Linked DNA regions of Homo sapiens: all the other regions are linked to region 6. The links are contacts of gene promoters, found by promoter capture Hi-C in blood cells and fetal thymus (Javierre and others, 2016). All regions are on one chromosome and are shown on one strand. Each heading gives the region's core, a stretch centred on a gene start or on the middle of the fragment in contact. The rest is flanking DNA. Distances are from core to core; before and after follow the strand shown. Region 1 overlaps VSIG1 (V-set and immunoglobulin domain containing 1). Region 2 overlaps TSC22D3 (TSC22 domain family member 3). Region 3 overlaps NCBP2L (nuclear cap binding protein subunit 2 like). Region 4 overlaps MID2 (midline 2). Region 5 overlaps TSC22D3 (TSC22 domain family member 3). Region 6 holds the start of RBM41 (RNA binding motif protein 41). Region 7 overlaps TSC22D3 (TSC22 domain family member 3).

Region 1 (2,700 bases), core at 162-2,661, 950 kb after region 6:
GGAAATAGCCCTGAGATAAAGTTAGACAAGAAGGTTAATATTCTTAAATTTAAAGCTCAGAGGATCCCAAATCAATTTCCATAAGAAGTTGAGGGTCACTTCATCTCAGAGGTGTTTTTTCCCATGAGTCTTTGTGTCAGATAGCTCTGTGTCATGACTTTTCCTTAAGCAGCCAGGATCCAGACAAGGTAAGAGGCAGAAGGGTCTGTGGATTTCCTTGTTTGTTTAGGAACTCTAAAAAATATTGTTTTTGTTAATTGGGCAAAGAACAAAGGCCTCCTCCAAATGTAGGCTTTTTGGAAAATTTGAGACTGCTAATTTTCTCTAAAAATTGCAGCGACTATTTGCAATTCTCAAATCTCATTGTATATGAGTGACAATTTTGCTTGCCCTGACTGAAAGGTGAGGCAAGATGGGGACAGGTGGGTAAGAGAGACAGGTTAATTGTGGGGAGAGGTGTTGATATTTCCTTAAAGATGACTCTCATAGCAATGTATCTTTCAGATGTTTTGTTACCCAGCAGTGAGCATCAATCCCATGCATTTACTCGTTCATGCATGAATTCATTTAACAAACCCTGAGCACACGTGCCAGTTACTGTGCTAAGCAATGGACATGGGGAAATGTAAAAGATAGGGTCTTAGCCCTCTAAAATTCAGTCTAGTGAAGGAGACAGACGCGTAACATAAAAGCTTTCAGTGGAGGTATGAGAGGAGAGCTATGAGGGCACAGGGGAAAGGGCAAAAAGCTGTATCAGGAATTGGAGAAGGCTTATTGAGGAAAGTGACTTTTGTGCTGAATGTTGAAGGATGTGCAAGAGTGTGTGATGAAGAAGAGGGGCTGAGATGGCAAGGCACAGTTTAGGTGAAGGAAACAGCAATGGGCAAAGAACCAGGTGGTTTGGATGGCCATTCATTTGAGAGCTTTCCATTAGGTATGACAACCTTGGAAAATTAATCTCTGAAAAATACCCAGATCAAGTTTGAATAATTATTTTGTGTGCATTTGGAATGAGCATCATCTACCTTCCGCAATTTGGCACATAAAAAGAAAATGATTGATTTAGGGAAGGTTTAAGAACCTACTGAAGCACTTTGTTTTTTCTTTTTTCTTTTTTTTTCTGAGCTGAGCCTTTTCCTCCCACCCCAATTCTGTTGAAAGCAATAAAGCTAAATGGTAGATCAATGGCTTTGCCAGTAAAATACCCAAGTTCCACTGGGGACTTTAACTGGATGAAATTTCAGTTCAATCCTGGGTCAGTAGTTTTAGAAAATATATAGGTTTGGGACTTGGTTCAAAGTGATTCACTAAATGTTTTGTTAATAAAAAATAAAAGGAGAAAAATATTCTAAGCAAAAAAAATGCCTATCTGGGTTTGATTCTGGGCTCAAGAAATGAGTGCAAGTCATTCCAGGTTTTTGCCATAATTTAGTTCAAGTCCTGGTGTCCAACTTTGTGATGAAACACCCCCATTTAATTTTCTGTTCAAATTGTTCTATTCTGCTGTAAAGGCTATACAATAGCCATCTTTTTAAAAAGGCAGTATCTAAATCTAGTGATAGCTGCAATGGACTTCTGGTTAAATAGCTTAGTTTAGGATAGGCACATCCAACAAGTTGTTCCTACCTGAGAAAATCTTTGATAAGAAAGAATAAAGAACTAAGTAGAAGGATATTCCTTTCAATTAAAAAGACACATGCTTAAAAGATAGGGCTAGTAAACTGTTTAAGAATTATAGCTATATGCATCTGTCTTCTCGCACCTGTGTACAGATAGTGAGAGTCTGGGAAGGCTGAACTGAGCGGAAGTCAATGGGAGAGTAACTTTAGTAGCAGGAATTAGTGCTGCTGTGGCCAACAGAAATTCCAGGTTCTAGGCCCTATATTTATTATTGTATTTAATACTTGGATCAGCCAGAGGTTAGATAATCTCTTAGTCACGTTTTACAGATGAGTCAGCTGAGGTTTGGCTAAGTTAGGTAACTTGCCTATACAGATCCAGGGTAGAGTTACAAAGCCCGTATTCTGTGTGGATCCAGAGCTGTGCCCTTAACCACTGCGTCTCAGGTAAGAGCTGTAGGACTGAGTAATATGACACATTTCATGTCTAACTCACCTAAATTAGAGAACCTAAGCTTTAAAGGGTTCTAGAGCAAAATGAAGATAAGCAAGGTGAGTTGGAAAGTATAGAAATTTACATCATTGTCTGTATATAAGATAGATATATAAGGTGTATAAGATAGATGTATAGATATAAAATAAATATCTAAGATAAGAGATATAAGATAGATATGTAGATATGATAGATATATAAATGTATAAGATATGTAAGATAGAATAAACCGTGCAAGTAAGTAAGATGAATGAGGAGATTCAGATTCCCAGCTTCCCACAGGACTTCTCCCCTGACATGTTTTCATAAGCAGCTAAAACTCTATGTCCCGGACTGACCTCATTAGTACCCCTTCCTCCTTGTCACCCCTTCACCTAAAACCTGTTCTTCCTGCTGTGGTCTTGGAGGCCTCTTCCCCTCTCTAAAGTCATCTCTCATCCCTCTCCCACCCCACTTTAGAACTGTGTGAAAGTTACTTTTGAATTCCTGGTGCCTAGTCCCATGCCAGGCCCACAGAAGGCATGGGTGCTTGCTGAGTGAAGGATGAATAAATATTTCAGTGCTGAGTAGCGTGCACCCCCCAAATGG
Region 2 (2,700 bases), core at 84-2,583, 650 kb after region 6:
TTCGTTGTAATCACTAGCACCAGCAGCTGGCTTAGAGAGGGAGCATTCTCCTCAAGGAATGCCCTGAGACATTTGCTCATTTTATGACAGGTTCCTACGTATGTGTTGACTACGAGCAGTAGACCACAAAATTGTGTTGAAAAGTAGGTGCTGGGCAATGCCACTCCTAGGTATATACCCCAAAGAATTAAAAGCAGGGACTTGAACAGATACTTGTACACCAGTGTTCATAGCAGCATTCTTCATAATAGCCAAAAGAGGGCAACAACCTAAGTGTCCACTGACAGATGAATGGATAAGCAAAAGAGGTATATCCATACAATGGAATTTTATTCAGCCATAAAAAGAATGAAGTACTGATATGTGCTACAACATGGATGAACTTTAAAACATGTTGAGTGAAAGAAATCAGACACAAAATATTGTATGATTCAATTTATATGAAATATCTAAATAGGCAAATCCATAGAGACAGAAAGTAGAATAGAGGTTACCAGGGGGTAGTGGGAGGGGAAAATAGGGAAACGGTGAGTTATTCTTTAATGGGTACAGAGTTTTTGTTTGGGATGATGACAAAATTTTGGGAATGATAATGGTTGCACAACATTGTTAATATACCTAATGCTACTGAATCGTACACTTAGAAATGGTTAAAATGGCAAATTTTATATCTATTTTACCACTATATATATATATGTACTATGTACAATATATGCATATAATACATCTCTCTCTTTCTCTTTCACACACACACACACACACACACACACACACTAGTAGATGTGGGGTAGGGCACCAGGCTCACTCATTGGTGAAAGGACCGGCCCCCACCTACTAGTCTCCTTGCACATGTGATTCACATCTGTGCCTCAGCAAAAACACAGTTTCTTACCAGTCTGAGTTCTCATGAAGTATCCAAACCATGAATGTTAAGTTTGCAAATGCATTTGTGCTTTTAATGGAGAAGGTCCCTTAATCCAAGAATGCCTATTCTTTGTCAGACCACTAGGCACTCAGGAAATAGTTATTTTAAATTACTTTGGGCTATGAAAGGACTTTTGAAGCTTGATACCAAAAGCAAAAATCACAAAGGCAAAGAATGACAGGCTTAACCACACAGAAACCCAAAACCGCTCTACAGCGAGTAACTCCATCCTCAAAATCAAATGGTAAATTAGTTGACAATGCGTTGCAATCTCTAATACAGGGTTTCTCACAGTGTGGTCTACATACCAGCGGTGCTCTGGGAGAGGAATTTTAGATGGTACATGGACAGAGAACTGAATCTTAAATAGTATGAACTTAGGCACTGCAGCAGGCAGCCACTCAAATCATGCCGTGTGAGTGGCCACCACCTCAGAAGCCAGGTCCAGGAATATACATTATGAAATTACTTGTTCTGAGACTCACTTAGAGAAGCACAAATAATTTTTTGCACAAATTTTTCTTGAAAACCTGATCTCTGAATCTATATCCTTCCCCTTTGTTACTATATTAATAGGGGATATTAAATGAATTAGCACACATAAAGCAATTAGAAATGTTTGCTATTTTTATCATTTTCTGAGCATTTATATATGGGAACCAGTTGGGGCCAGGTCAGAAGCTTAAAGGTAGAATCCTAGGGTTTTTAGAGCTGGAAGGGAAATCGGATTCAGAGTATTTCAGACCACACTAGCCAGGTACGCTCTGGGGTCAAAGGTAGAATAGAGCTGATTAAGAGGTTTTGGGTAAAATCTTAGAAAAAAATTTGAGGTTACAGCAACAGCAATCACAACGAATACTGTCAAAGCTCCTGTTACAGGTTGTTATACCTTACAGGTCAGAAAAATTAAGGAAGGCTCTTCAAATGTCAACTTGGGAAGCTTTTTCATATGCTACATTTAAATTGGAAACTTCTGCTGTTTGCCCAGAATATTCTATCTCCCTCCTAAGTTTTCCAGTATTAGAAGCATATTCAAATGACAAGGGGGAAGTCCCCTAACAACAGGGTGACCAACCATCCCAGTTTCCCTAGGACTGTTCCAGTTTGAGCACAGGCAGTCCTATGTCACAGGACTGGGATGGTTGGTTTCCCTACCTAATAAGGACATTTTGACCATTTGGAAAGGTTCTGAGCTCACATTTACCTCTGCTTCATAGACAATTCTTAAGTGTTACAAGAATTTCTTTAGCATTAGTTTAGTTACTGAGTGTTCTTAACAATTCTTTCTTCATAGACAATTCAGGCTCTGCTCTTCATTGTGAGGCATTGGGCAAGATACTTAATTTTTTCCAAGCCTCAATTTCCTTCTTTATAAAATGAAAATGGATGATAATAGTACCCATTTGGTCGGGCGCAGTGGCTCATGCCTGTAATCCCAGCACCTTGGGAGGCCGAGGCTGGTGGATCATTTGAGATCAGGAGATCGAGACCAGCCTGACTAATATGGTGAAACCCCATCTCTACGAAAAATACAAAAATTAGCCGAGTGTGGTGGCGTGCGCCTGTAGTCCCAGCTACTGAGGAGGCTGAGACAGGGGAATTGCTTGAACCCAGGAGGTGGAGACTGCAGTGAGCTGAGATCGTGCCACTGCACTCCAGCCTGGGCGACAGAACAAGACTCCGTCTCAAAATAAATAAATAAATAAACAAATAAATAAATAAATCCATTCCAAAGAGTTGATGTAAATATTAAATTAGATTATGCAGGTACATTG
Region 3 (2,865 bases), core at 312-2,811, 670 kb after region 6:
AAGGGAGAGAAGGAAGGAGGAAGGGACAGAGAATTTTGTTAGGCAAAAGTTCAACTAAGAAACCACATACGTCAGTGCTTCTCAAACTGTACTGTGCACTCAAATCACCTGAAACTCGTTAAAATGAAGATTATTATTCAGCAGATCTAGGGAGGGGCCTGAGATCCTGCATTTCTAAAAAGCTCCCAGGTGTGCTGCTCCTGCTGGCCCACGGACAACACTTTGAACAGTAAGGCCATATAGTGCAAATGATAAACAAAAAAATTCAAGCATCCATTAACACCTGCTTCCTAATTTAATCCAGATCAGCTTCTACACTAAACAGTCACTTATTATCCTCTTTTCTCCTGTAGCCTGTCTCAGGCCATTGTCTCCGCTTTAGTTCTGCCAGTCTGTTTCAGCTTATGTTTGTTTATTTATTTATTTGTACAAATTTAAGGGGTTCGAGTGCAGTTTTGGTACATGGATATATTGCAGAGTGGTGAAGTCTGGGCTTTTAATGTAACCGTCACCCAAACAGTGTAGATTGTACCCATTAAGTAATTTCTCATCTCTCACCTCCATGACATGTTTATGTTTAACTACTCATTTAAATACAGGTGTTAAATACATATGAACATCTTCTGTCACTCTGAGCACTAGGCAGTCTCAATCAGACATGAATTTCTCTTGGCACAAAGTAGATATTTGGCCACAGGGTTCCAGTCCTCAACAATGGCTCTCAGCTCTCTCACCCATTAGGAACAGTCTTATAAAGGTAAGGCATGTAGTAACACTACTGTCCCAGCGCTTTCTAATTTCCTTTCTTAGAGCTACTGCCTTCATCTGGAGCAGAAAGTAGCCTGGCTTTTTAAAGAGTCCAGATCCTTGTTCCTTTCACATAGTTGAAACAATCCCAGCATTAGTTTAAGGCAACCATTGAAAAGATTCTTTGCAGAGTCCTGCCAACTCCAAAAGCCCAGTGAAGTTTGTTTCCTGGAAGATAATTTACTTTATTTTGCCACCTCCTCTCCTCCGTCCTCTTAGGATTTTGACTGATCATTTTGAGCCATTCTTCATGTTTTTCTTCTATTTTTAGACTCTCTGACTAATTTTCTCCAGTAGCAAGAGTCAAGGAAAGCTTTCCACTCCAACCAAGCTCTACTTTTTAGGTAGGAAATATTCTCTCACAGTGTTTACAGATCAACTTGGTGATCTGTGGTCCCTGGCAACTGGATTGCTTTTCTATCTTCTCTTTAACCTTTGGGGATGTTAACCTTGGGGGTGACCCTTCTAACACCTTTAGCAGGTAGGTGTTCATTGCAGCCTCCACATGAATAGATTAGGTAAGTTCACATTCTATCACTGGATGAATTAAAAACTCTGCTAAAAAAGAATTGTAATCTTCTGTTTTTAACTTCTATCCATTAATCTTACTTTTATCATATGGAGCAGAAATAGCACTTTCAATATTTCAAGACATTTGTCATATCCTCCTTTAACCATCTCTTTGCTAGACTAAACATCCCCAATTTCTAATCAGTCCTCAGTTACTTCTTGACCCTTCATTCATTCAATAAACATCAGATGCACTATGATTTGTAAATGTTCACTTTAAAATACAGTACCTCGAAATGGAACGTAGTGCTCGCTGTGTAGTTTGACCAGCATGGAGCACATTGGGACTGCCACTCCTTGTGATGGTCTGATGCAATTTCATGATCATACCAGCTTAAAAAAGAGTAACTCACTTCTTCACATCTAGTGAGTACCTACTTTGGGTCAGGTACCTAACATCAACTAGAAACCTCTGTTTTCAGTGGTAGAGGTTCTCTGTTCTTTCTTACCCCATGGGGCCTGGAGATGGTACAGCCACCCTCTTCCAATCCTTCCTACTATCATCTGCTGTACTTTAGTTCTCTCACCTATTGAGGACTTCACCTCCTCACTGATAGTCTTCCTTTCCACCCCAACTCTAGCCACCATCCTGAGTGATCTTAATGTCCTCATAGATGACCCATTTATAAGCTTCATCCTTTCAATCATTTTACCTCCACTCTGCTTCACCAACTATTTTCAATGATCCACTTTATTCTCAGCAGATGATCTCACCTCTTATTCCATTATGAAAATCTAGGTCGTTGGATGCTAACACTCATTTTCCTGTCCTAACCCCACCCTGCCACATAGTTGTGTCCCTACATGTCCTAACCTCTTTTTTTTTTTTTTTTTTTTTTTGGGCTTGCAGAAATACACATAGCTTCTCCAGTTCAAGGCTAATTTCTCTACGTATGCTTTGGAGCCCATTCTTTCTCACCTCCATGAGGACTTACTTCATCAGTTATCCCTCCTCTCATCTGTGTCTTCAACAACTCCTTCTCTACTTACTGGCTGCTTCCCATCAACCTTCAGGCATGATCAACTTTCACTCTAAAAAAAGAAACAAACAAATTTTCCTTCGCCTCTATCCCCAACTGGCATTTGCCCTATTTCTCTTCTTTTATTGTTATGGAATCTTTTCTAAAGTGTAGACACTCTCCATTTCCTCACCTCCTGTTAAAAACTCAGCTCCCACTATGGCTTTTCTGTTCCCAGAACACCACTGTTATTTCTCTTTTAAGTAAACCAATGACATCCTAATTGCCAAATCTAATGAACAATGTTAAGTCTTTATTTTACTGGACCTCTCTCTGATGTATTTAACATAATTGATTGCTCTCACCCTACTTCTGTCCTCATGACTCTCATGACCTACTCCTTGGCTTTGGTGATGTTGCACATCTTCTGACTGTCCTCATTCCTCTCTGATTACTCCTTCTTATGCTGTTTTGTGGACTTTTCGTCTGCCACCCCTTAAATGCCAGTCTTTCCCAGGTTTTTTCATTC
Region 4 (2,700 bases), core at 29-2,528, 740 kb after region 6:
GAGATTCCTAGCCCTGACCTCAGGACTTCCAAAGCTTTTTATCACTATCTCTGAGAGTGGGGAGAACAATCATTCCCAAATACTCATAACCAATTTCAAATTTTACATATATCAACTAAAACTTTTCTTGGGAAGAGGGAGTGGTAATGAAATTGCAGCAGCAAAAATATTGGGTACCTTGGCCATGTGACTCCACCTAGCCCACCAGTAACTCTGCAGATGTGATAGACTAAAAAGGGTTATTGTGCTCAATAAGCTGCTAGTTTGCAGTTACTAATTTAAACAAATTTTATTTAGTAAGGAAACATTTACTGCCCTTCTGCAAGAATATCCAAAAGATTCTTCGTGTTGATACTTAAGTAAATTTGCCCATTATCCTGCCCAAATTCTTCTTGATTACTGCCTTTAAGCAAAGCCAAAAGAAAAGTTTTAGGGAGGGTCACATGCTTTCATCTCTAGTAATTTTAAAAAGAGAGAGTTCTATAATTTTGTATTTGCGATTTAAAATGTTTATTAGCAAAAATGTTCTGTGAATATTTTTGTTAGAGATGGAAGAGCAAGGGGAGCAGACTTAAGAGCTCCTGAGAAAGATTTGAACTGCTAGTGTCTTGTGAAAATGAAATACCTAGTTTGAAACCACTGTGGAATTATAGATGGAGAAAATTGTTTCCATGAAAAATGGAAAATAAGTTCAGTGATCCAGTCAATCTATTCATTTATACTACTGTAGTGACTAATTCAGAGTATTACATTCAATCTTATTAAGAATATAACGATTGACATTTAATATAGATGAAAAACCTAAGTTAACTGTGCAATCCAGTGTGTGGTCATAGCCTATTTTTATACTAGAAAAGAAAGTGCTTTATAATTTTTCAGAGACCTAATGCATTCAATCCTTTTTAAAAAATACTTTGTGACAATTCTTCATTTATGTCAGTAAAGTAACATTTTTGAAGACATTAAATGTTGCAGTTGAAATACTTGGAGGGTATTAACACATGACAGGGTTTAAGGATAAAATTAGTTAGGATTAATATTGTTTTCCTCGCCCTCCTCCCTCACATCTATAGGGCAGGTAAGCTTTCAGGTGTGGTCATGTCTTCATAGCCGAAACAGTTCACATAGGAATGCACTTTCATCCCACTTTTGCACTTTTCCTTTGGCACAGTGAAGCTTATCTTACAGTCCCGTTTCCCATCCCTCCTCTAGTTCTCATTTCTGTGTTCAAATTCCAGGTCACTCACTAAATGACCAGAAGACTTGCTTAATTTTGGCTCCTCTTGTTTGCTCCACTATTTTCACAATCCACCCAAATTCCCCATTTCCAGTGTGCTCTTGGAAAGTTAATGGAATCTTAATAATTCAGCTAAGGCTCTATCAAGCTTATCCTATACCTTGAAATGTTTCTAGTTCCACTTTTACCTCTAATCTCTCCTGCCATCAACCCAACTAAAACTAAACAAATGTTTTAAAAACCCAGACTTGAAACCAAAACAACTATCACCACAGCAGATAGGCACACAGCCATTGAGATGTCCTTACTGTCTCTGCCTGTCTAGAGGAGTCCAGCTCTGTGGTACGGTAAGCAAGGATTGGGAGGAAGAGAATCTTACTTGAATAATTTGTTCTGGGCACTGTGCTAGAGACATCATTTCTAATCTCACTTAGTGTTTATGACAATCCTGTGATACAGCTGGTTAATATTCCCATTTTTCAAGTGAGGAACTTGAAGGCCAGAGATATTAGATGCCTTACTCAAGGTCACACATAAGTAAGCTGGGATGCAGTTCTACATTTCTCTCACTCCAAAGTCTATGTTCTTTCCATTGCATTGTGCAGCCTAGTGGAGAAGTTGTTGGTTTACTTGCCACCGATTCATTTGTGCTCAGATAGGTAGGAGGCAGCTCCAGAAAACCCTTTGTTTTTCTCCACTAAATAGCTCTAGCTCTAGAAAAACATATGGTCTGTTTGGGGGCCTGGCGTTCCTGAATCTGTGGTAAGCCTCTTATGTACTCCTGCCATTGGCCTACCTTTAATAGCCCAGAGCAGCTCTCCATATTCTGACAGCCCTTCATGGGGTACAGAGGAGAGGGAGTTGCCTAGAGTTGGCAGAAGGAAGCAATAATACCCACAATTAGGCATTTACTTGCTCAGATTATTTTTGTGCCATGAGGGGTGGAAATAGTGTGGGCAGCTCCAGGTATCAACACTGTCCTCAGCCATAGAGTTTACGCTGGGACCCATATTTTCTTGCTGAGACTGCCGGGATGGGTCCTCATTCTAGGGCTGTACATGACCATGTTTCAGGGTAAAAGTAGTCTCCATGAGACACAGGGTTTCTTAACAGTTACTAAGAGTTTGACAGTAAAGATGTACTCTCAAAAGTATAATTAATGTTTGCACATTTAAAACAGGATATAAATAACAAATATAATACCACAATGACTGCAAATATATAGATTTCCTCAAAAAAGAGTGAATGCATTGCTATTATTAATGGTGTCTTTTGATGGAATGATTACTTAGAAGTACACATACAGCCAGGAAATCAGCTATTTACTACCTCAAGACAGAAAGAGAATCCAATGCCTCTGTCTATTCTCACTACCTCTCCTCTCACCTAAATCAAATCTTGAATCCAAGTTTACCCTATCTCAGCCAGTCCTAAGAACTCTTAATTATTCCTAAGAGCTTTAA
Region 5 (2,756 bases), core at 139-2,638, 630 kb after region 6:
ACAGGGTGGCTGCCTGCGTGGTATGATTTGAGGGGATAAAGGTCAAAGGCACCATGCCCCAAAACTCAACTCTACTTGCCCTAGGCTGAGCCTGAAATCCTCACTTTGCTTACTCCTTTTGAAGGCCCAGGTTTAAATAAAATTGCAACTTGGGAAGGGGAGCACATTCAGTTACTACAAGCTGTTTACACCTCAGCTGGATTCATCATATCACATTCGCATTAGCAGAAAGTAAGGCCTCAAGGCCATGGTTAAGAGGCAGGAGATCAGGAAAGTTTTGGAACATGAGCTATCATCCTATAGTTGAGAGTCCTAAGCAGCGGCGGGGGGTAGCATGAAGAGCTTGTGCTAGAAGGGAGAAGGAGTGAGAAAAGGGAGTATGAAAAACAAAGCCTACACTGTTCACCATCTGTTTTCTGAGGGATGAGCTTGATTCCTCTATCCAAGCTGAAAGTGGTTCTGATTTGGCAGCTAGGTTTACAACAAGGGAGACACAATCTCCTCTCCAGACTGAGGCATTTATCCAGAATTCATACTAACCTCTTCCCTCGTAATACAGGGACTTTGTGCTGGTGAGGAGGAACCAGGTCTGGAGCCTGGGTGGGATTCACTTTCCCTACTCAACTTCAAGGCCTGGCATGACCCATCCCTTGCTTCCAGAGGAGGGGAATGGTGAAAACAGTCATTAGTTCTTTGTTATGGGTGGTGAGTTGGGGGGTGATCTGCCTCCTTGGCCAAGCTTCCTGCCCTGGAGACAAAGAACAAGGAAGGGAAGCACAAAGAGCTATGCCTGGAGGTGTGGACTTTCTCGTAGCCTGTCTCAAACAATGAGTGGGGCTCCCAAAGAAGGCTGGTTTTGATTTTTCAGCTGGAGTCCCTTTGCGTTGGAGAGGTTAGGAGCCACCTGGATGGATGAGAGCCCTAAAGATGGATCACTGCTGCCCAGTTTAGATTCCCCACGGACACCACTGGAGCCTAATGAGGTTGCCAAGGGAGCTGGTCCGGCAGCCTTGCAGAGGAGAAGGGGCAGGAAGAAAAGACTCTGTCCCAGGCTCAGCAAGAGATCCCATAGCCAAGATACGCACAGCAGGCCAGAATGTAAAAATCAATTCACAAAGACAGCAAGAATTAAGTCTAGACAGAACCCAACTGAGTGAATTTGTTGGTCTCTGTGGGCTGCAGGAACCAGAGAAGCCCCATCCACTCAGGTTGCCACTAGCTTCAGCCATGGTGACATGGCATCAGCTGCAAGCCTACTGTGGCTGGCTCAAGGGCCTGGGACTTGTCCCCTGGGCCTCTAAATGCCAGGCCAGGAGCAGTACAAGCCTCTCCTATCCTTCCCTTTACCTACTGCTTGGCCACTGACAGGGTGCACCTGGCTAGCTCAGCTCTGTTTTCTTAAGTGCTTGCTGAGCCAGAGAGGAGAGAGGAGGGAGGATGGACTCAGGGAAGGGAGGAAGGGCCAGGATGCTGGCCTCCTGAGGTAGCATAGATTCCCCATGAATACACTGCTGACTATGATAGGTAGCAGTGCTGCCTCTTCCAATTCTAGCACTTCTGGGAGTCATTTCTCAGCTCACACTTCCCTCCTGTGACAGATACATAAATCCTTGGCTGAAGAGGCTGCCGTGCCCCTTCCTGTTTCAGATGTGATTTTCCTCAGATGAATTGCGCCACCACTTTCAGACTCACATGGGTCAGACGATCAGACCAGGCATTGTGATACAGCCATCAGGTTATAGTTAGGAAGAAGAAGGGAACTATCGATTTCCTGGTAACTCCTTGGATCTGTCTCCCCAAGTCAAACTAGGTACCATTACGCAGACCCCTTAGGTCTTCATGGACAAATCCACAGCATCCACAACCATATGACATATTTCAAAGACACACAGAAATGACTTCAGTATGCTTGAAAATCAACTCCCAAGTATTTCTAGGTGGCTTTTCCATTTTGTGAAATAGCAGTGGCAATGCTTGGTCTCAGCTTAGCTTCTCCCTACATCCAGTTTCTTCTAGTTTCTGTATACTCCAGGGGTGCAAGCTTATTTTCATATCAGCCCAAATAATTAAGAAGGCAGATCTACTGAAAAAAGTTAGACCCATGGTGCAATTTCTTTCTTCCTTTTTTTTTTTTTTTTAAGACGGAGTCTTACTCTGTTGCCCAGGCTGGAGTGCAGTAGTGAGATCTTGGCTCACTGCAACCTCCGCCTCCCAGGTTCAAGTGATTCTCCTGTCTCAGCCTCCCGAGTAGCTGGGATTACAGAAGCGTGCCACCACGCCTAGCTAATTTTTTTTTGTATTTTTAGTAGAGACGGGGATTTCACTATGTTGGCCATGCTGGTCTCGAACTCTTGACCTCATGATCTTCCCACCTCGGCCTCTCAAATGCTGGGATTACAAGCGTGAGCCACCGCGCCTGGCCTATCATGGTGCAATTTCAAAGCTAGCTAGACATGATGTTTCTCCTACATTATCTCTTATTTTGGATTATCCATGCCACATGTCCTATGTTACCCTAGCCATGTGAAACTCAGCCATACTTGGATTTGGAATCCATTTGTGAGTGGGTAATTTATTTTTGAAAAAACTTTCTTTATGCACTACTTGGGCTGGTATCAAAGTGATCCTGCACCCCAGAGTTCCCAGAAACTAGCTAGAAGGTCGGTGGGGGGCAGCCTGGAATTTTGTGATTGCTATAGATAATCCACAAAATGGATAATGAATATAGGAATAATCAAAACTCTACCCAGATACAA
Region 6 (2,761 bases), core at 1-2,500:
AGATGGAATAAATGATTTGGGAAAGGGAAAGTCAGTATTGTTTTAGCCACATTGAGTCTAGTAGCTTTTACAATAGAAACGCCAGCATGAAGTATCAGGAATACTTCAAATACATGACTAGGAACATTTTGTTTAGGGATAAATTCATATGTACTAGAAACTATTTGCTTTTTTAAAAGCAAGGGAATTAATAACACAAAATTCCGGATAGTGGTCACCTCAGGGGGGAACGAAGGGAGGGAAGAGACACAGTAGACTTCTAAGGGACTGGCAATGTCCTATTTCTTAAGCTTGTAGTGGATGCGAACCTTTATTATTCTTTAAGCTGTATATATACATTATACATTATTTCGCATGGAGGAGATATCATAAAAAAATATTAAAGGTTAGTTTCAGGCAGGCAAAGTCATAAACGGTTTTTTAAAAGATGCAAGGAACTGACAGTGCAGGAAAGCATATCAGTAAGAATTTTAAATGCACTGCACTATTCCAGAGTGATGATTCTACTTGCAGAGTGAATCTAAAATTAATTTAAGCCCGTCAATAGTTAGGAGGCTCAGGCCATTTAGGCTCAAGCGGCCATTTACCTCAGGACAAGTAAGGGGAACTGAGCCCAGCAATGCCTTCCACCTCCCCTCCCCCCACCCCATAAATCGAACCGCTTTGGTGCTGTCCTTCCACATTTAGAAACAAAGTACCGCTCCCTTACTTTAAGATTCGAAAGCGCTACATGGTTTCGGGGCCCAAGCAAGTAGTCTTTAACACACAGACGTTGCAAATAAATGCGCCCGCCCCGAGCCTTTCTCAGGTGGAGGTGGAGGTAGGGGAGAACGGCGAGGGGCTGGCCCGAGGTACCTACATCTCCGGCGCCGGGAATTTGTCAGCCTCAAACCCTTTTGCCCAGCTGGGTCCGGGTGAAACGACGAAGCCGCAGCACCCGGCCAGCTCCCGGGGCCCGTGCCGGGAGGGCATTCCCACAGCAGCCGGCCCCGGTGGCAGCCCTTCCTGAACTTCGCTCTGCAGGCCTGTTCAGCCCGTCTCCCCTCCTCCCGTCTCCTTTGTCGTGTTCCCGCTCCCACGAAACCGCATCCTGAGAACGTGCAATACCCAAACCAGAAAGCAATGGAAGCCATTTTCAAAAGAAAAGGTAGAACAAAGCTCCCCTTGCCGCCTGCTCTTCAGACAAGTCCTTACCTCTTCATGTTTCCACAGGCCCCTACCTCCAACTTGGGTAAATAGGCCGCGGACCTCAAGTCCCAGAACTCCGCGCGGCGGACTTCTAAGGGTATTGTGATGGAGCATGGGGCTCTGGGAATTGTAGTAGCACAGAGCTATGGCAACAGAAAGAGAAAGTAGATCTCAAGTGACAGGTATGCTGAACATTGTCCAAATATTTATTTTGAATTTCTCATTTAGGTTCAAAAGAAGACCCAAAATATCCAGCTCATAAAACGAGTCACCTTTGACTTCTTGATTCTCTCATCCATTACCACTAATTCCTGGCTCTTCTGTAATTTCCTTTGAACTTATCAACACTGCTTTTCTTTCAAGGATTTATCCAGCCTACCTACCGTTTCCAGTCGAGCCTCTGCTTCATCCTTCACGATGTAGCCAGAGTCATCAGACACGAGTCTGACTATATCACCTGTACTAATGGTTCTCCTCTATCTGTAACAGAGACTTGAGAGTTTTCTCCACTCAGAATCAGAAGTCTGTGTATGTTCAGGCCCACATATGTTTTATTGATAATTATGGTGAATCAAGAAAGAGGTATAGTATAGTGGTTAAAAGCATAGGCTCTTAGTTTCCAGAAATGGAAATGCAAATGTCTTTAAGTGTATGAAAAGATGTCCAATCTCACAAATTTTAAAGTACACTGACTACCAGTACTCCTTAAAACTAGCAAGGTCATCAAAAACACAAGAATCTGTCACAGCCAAAAGGAACCAAAGGAGTCATGATGACTAAAGTAATGCAGTATCTTGGATGGGATCCTGGAAAAGAAAAAAAGACATGAGGTAAAAACTAAGGAAATGTGAACAAACTATGCTCTTTAGCTAATAACAAGGTTCGTTAGCTGTGACAAATGTATCAGAGTTATGCAAGGGAAACTGAGTTGTACGTATGTGGAACTTTGTACTATGCAACCTTTCTGTATCTAAAACTGTTCTAGAACTTAAAGTTTATTTTTAAAAGTACATTAAACTACCATTTTTCACCTAACAGATTGGGAAAGATCCAAAAGTTTGATAACACACTTGTTTTATTGAGATTGTGGGGAAACGGGCGCTCTCAATACACTAGTGGTAGGAATATAAATTGGTACAACATCTATTGGGGGCAAATGAGGATACTACTAAAATCATAAATGTACATTCCCTTTAAAGCAGCAATTCAGTTATGAATAGAATCCTCAATACTATATATCCTCTAACCTACTATCATTCCTTGCAACATTGTTTATGAAAACAGAAATGAAAATATCCAAGAACATACTATGAAAATGTATCATTCAATGAAAAACTATGCAGCAGTTACCAAGATGACAAAGTTCTCTATGAACTGCTACTAAACAATCTCCAAAATATAGTTAGTGCAATAGCAAGGTGCAGAACGATATGTATACTATGCTTCTATTTGCATAAAAAGGGGAGCTCTAGTCACTTAAAAACATATATATGTGTGTTTGCTTGTATATGCACAAAATATGTTTGGGAGAACTTACAGACAAATGATGAGTGAATGCCTCCAGGTAGGGGAA
Region 7 (2,772 bases), core at 263-2,762, 600 kb after region 6:
CAGAAAGTCTCCGAGCTGACCTTTCATTGGCTTGTTAATTTTTCCTCAACTATTGCTTTCCCCTCCCCCGAAGATTCCAAGGAAGATGATGAGAAGAAAAGGGGACAGAGAAATAAGCTGGGCTGGCAGGGGAAAAACACCACCAGGAAAACAGGGCACAGGACAGAAGTAAAAACAGCTCCTTCAAGAGGGACTCCCTTATGTGGAGACAGAGGCAGAGAAATCCAGGTGGTATGGGAAGGGAAGGCAAAAGGGTTAAGGTTCCCAGCAAAGCTGCATTTGAATTGATCATTAATTTGTCTACGGCCATACCACCCTGAACACACCTGATCTCGTCTGAGTTGTTCATTAGTTATACTTCAATTATAAAAGCAAATTGAGTCTGAGACTCACTGACAATAATAGTTACTATTAATAGAGCATCAGCTATGGGCAGACACTGTGCTGGCTGCACCACCAACCCCAAGGTTTAGGCACTGTCACTATCATTTTACAGATGAAGAAACCAAGGGTCTGAGAGGCTACCTTGCCCAAGGCGGCAAAGGTAATAAATTACAGAGCTAGAACTGCAGCCCAGGGTCTTCCTGACCCAGAGATCAAATCTGTTCCTACTGCACTGATCAGTGGGGCAGGGAATAGGTTTGTTGAATGGTTAGAGGCTTGAATGAGTGAGTTGAGGAAGTTGGTAGGGGGTTTGGAGGTGCCAGAGAGTGGTAAGGAAGAAGAAAGGGTGAGAAGCAGCAGCCCTACTATTAGAGAGGTCCAGAGACTGCCTTTGAGTTCTGCGAGCCTTGGCTTTTCTGACACGTGAGGCAGAGGAGAGCTGCAATGGGTGACTGGAACAATATCCAACTGTCCAAATGAGCTTTATGAGACGGCCATGCTCAACCACATCATTCCAAAAGGCAGCCAAGCAATCCTCAAAGAAAGCTATCTGTTTGGGAAATAGGAGACATTAATCTAACAGGGTGGCTTCCAGAATGGAACGTGTAGGAGAGTGTACAATATTCCAAATCAAGTATGGAGTCTTGGCAGCACAATCACAATGCAGTCAAACTTTGAGTTCCTGGAGCCCCACTCACCGGCAACTCTTAATTAACTCCTTTTTCCCCCTATTCCAGCTTTTAGGAAAATGAGGTCAATAAGAAAACAAGTTCGTATCAAAGATTTAGTTAAAAAAAAAAAAAAAGACTTGGAAAGGAGGTCCCAGGTTCAGCCCAGACTCAGACAAGCTCTCATCCTCTCTACATCTCTGGTTCTGCTGAGTGAGATGTGATCACCCTGAGACCTTATGATCCTCCATTAGGAAAGAATGAATGGATCCCAGGGTCCACTGGCTCCCTAAGGGAAGAATATGGACTTAAATGTCTCTGTAGAAAGATTTTCTGGCCAGGCGCAGCGGCTCACGCCTGTAATCTCAGCACTTCAGGAGGCTGCGGTGGGCAGATCACCTGAGGTCAGGAGTTCGAGACCAGCCTGGCCAACATGGTGAAACCCAGTTTCTATTAAAAATACAAAAAATTAGCCGGGCATGGTGGCGCATGCCTGTAATCCCAGCTACTCGGGAGGCTGAGGCAGAAGAATCACTTGAACCCGCGAGGCGGAGGTTGCAGTGAGCCGAGATCGTGGCATTGCACTCCAGCTTGGGCAACAAGAGCGAAACTCTGTCTAAAGAAAAAAAAGAAAAGAAAAGAAAAAAGATTTTCCAACAACAAGGGCAGGGGAGATAAGGGTGGGTAGGAAGGGTGGGGGTGGGGGAAGGAGGAGGAACCCAAAGAGTTTTCTGCTTAACCCTCAGCACACCAGAAAATTTCTCCACCCAGAATAGCTATGCCAAACCTTGCAGTGAGTGGAAGTTTGTGCTGTACCTATCCATGATCTGATCCAATATTGAGACTCTCAGGGTCCTTGTGTCCCGTGGAAGTGGGCCCCAAACAGGAAACAGTGGCCTAGGCATTCAATGGCCCAGCTACCCCAACATTCATAAATGTTGCCAAATTCTCTTTCTGACATCCCACAACTCACAATGTAGGCTGGACCCAGAGCCAACACGGCAACAGCACCTCACTGAGGAGCCAGGCCCTTTGCTGGCTCTCAGCTGTAGTCTTAAAGGGACATAGTAACAAAACAGACATGGCTGACCCTACCTTTCTCAGGGGCGACCTTCTAGATGGAGGGTGGCGTAATGAGGACAGGGCCAATTCCCTTCATTTCAGGAGGCTTTGGAAACCAGCATATTCCCTTTGAGCTGAAAGAAGTGCCTCAGCATTTCCCATTCATCTTTTCCCCTTCAAAAGCCAGACTGGACTCTCTAGGACAAGAGCCCTTCCTACGTCAGGTTCCCATGGGACAGTAGAACAGAGACTGGGCAAAGTCTGGGCAGCATAACCCCGGGCAGGATCTCAGAGCCCTGATGGCGTTGGACAGCAGATTCAGGGCGGGTGCGGTAGGTTGGGGGTGGTGATGAGGGGGAACATCTCACTTCCCTTTTTGTTACACTTGAAGCACTGTGTACCACACAGCCAGAAGGAAACTATTTATAGGTAAGTCTTCCTTATTTTCTACAGGGAATGTTCCACCCAAAGGTTCGGCAATGTTGCCAGCAAAACACAGGGTCCTGTGTCAGGAGAAGCGGAAAAAGACATGATGCGAGAGGTGCGGGAGAAGCCACAAAGCAAACACTGGGTTAGGAGCTGGAAAAGGAAATACAAAAAGGATATTGAGCACTAGAGCGTTAACACAGTGTTAATGGGATGGTTGAAAAACATCCCT

The links. Contacts are between HindIII fragments. The CHiCAGO score rates a contact against its expected background, and 5 or more counts as called.
Region 1: a contact is called between a fragment that was not itself captured here and the fragment with the promoter of RBM41 in region 6, in 2 of 17 cell types (naive CD8 T cells and activated CD4 T cells). The highest score is 7.2, in naive CD8 T cells.
Region 2: a contact is called between a fragment that was not itself captured here and the fragment with the promoter of RBM41 in region 6, in 2 of 17 cell types (total B cells and naive CD4 T cells). The highest score is 6.4, in total B cells.
Region 3: a contact is called between a fragment that was not itself captured here and the fragment with the promoter of RBM41 in region 6, in 1 of 17 cell types (naive CD4 T cells). The highest score is 6.6, in naive CD4 T cells.
Region 4: a contact is called between a fragment that was not itself captured here and the fragment with the promoter of RBM41 in region 6, in 1 of 17 cell types (naive B cells). The highest score is 5.7, in naive B cells.
Region 5: a fragment that was not itself captured here is called in contact with the fragment with the promoter of RBM41 in region 6 in 2 of 17 cell types (naive B cells and total B cells); the score reaches 5.3 in naive B cells.
Region 7: a fragment that was not itself captured here is called in contact with the fragment with the promoter of RBM41 in region 6 in 1 of 17 cell types (activated CD4 T cells); the score reaches 5.4 in activated CD4 T cells.

Annotation. Positions count from the first base shown.
Region 1 is chrX:108,069,117-108,071,816 of GRCh38, forward strand. All of the region lies in intron 3 of VSIG1 (V-set and immunoglobulin domain containing 1), which reads left to right. Among named protein-coding and RNA genes, the nearest start is that of PSMD10, 21 kb to the right of the region's middle. The HindIII fragment of the contact is 1,442 bases long and covers 691-2,132 here.
Region 2 is chrX:107,768,973-107,771,672 of GRCh38, forward strand. All of the region lies in intron 1 of TSC22D3 (TSC22 domain family member 3), which reads right to left. Among named protein-coding and RNA genes, the nearest start is that of TSC22D3, 5.5 kb to the right of the region's middle. The HindIII fragment of the contact is 542 bases long and covers 1,063-1,604 here.
Region 3 is chrX:107,786,981-107,789,845 of GRCh38, forward strand. All of the region lies in intron 1 of NCBP2L (nuclear cap binding protein subunit 2 like), which reads left to right. Among named protein-coding and RNA genes, the nearest start is that of NCBP2L, 11 kb to the left of the region's middle. The HindIII fragment of the contact is 887 bases long and covers 1,119-2,005 here.
Region 4 is chrX:107,862,270-107,864,969 of GRCh38, forward strand. The region is part of intron 3 of MID2 (midline 2); the gene reads left to right. Among named protein-coding and RNA genes, the nearest start is that of MID2, 38 kb to the left of the region's middle. The HindIII fragment of the contact is 209 bases long and covers 1,175-1,383 here.
Region 5 is chrX:107,751,796-107,754,551 of GRCh38, forward strand. All of the region lies in intron 1 of TSC22D3 (TSC22 domain family member 3), which reads right to left. Among named protein-coding and RNA genes, the nearest start is that of TSC22D3, 23 kb to the right of the region's middle. The HindIII fragment of the contact is 1,302 bases long and covers 738-2,039 here.
Region 6 is chrX:107,117,572-107,120,332 of GRCh38, forward strand. It overlaps RBM41 (RNA binding motif protein 41), which reads right to left and starts at 1,251. Exons shown (of 8, transcript NM_001324242.2): 1 at 1,195-1,251. The coding sequence starts at 1,202. RefSeq lists enhancers at 555-634, 1,015-1,204. The HindIII fragment of the contact is 8,519 bases long and covers 289-2,761 here.
Region 7 is chrX:107,719,023-107,721,794 of GRCh38, forward strand. All of the region lies in intron 1 of TSC22D3 (TSC22 domain family member 3), which reads right to left. Among named protein-coding and RNA genes, the nearest start is that of TSC22D3, 55 kb to the right of the region's middle. RefSeq lists an enhancer at 2,558-2,717. The HindIII fragment of the contact is 8,360 bases long and covers 1-2,772 here.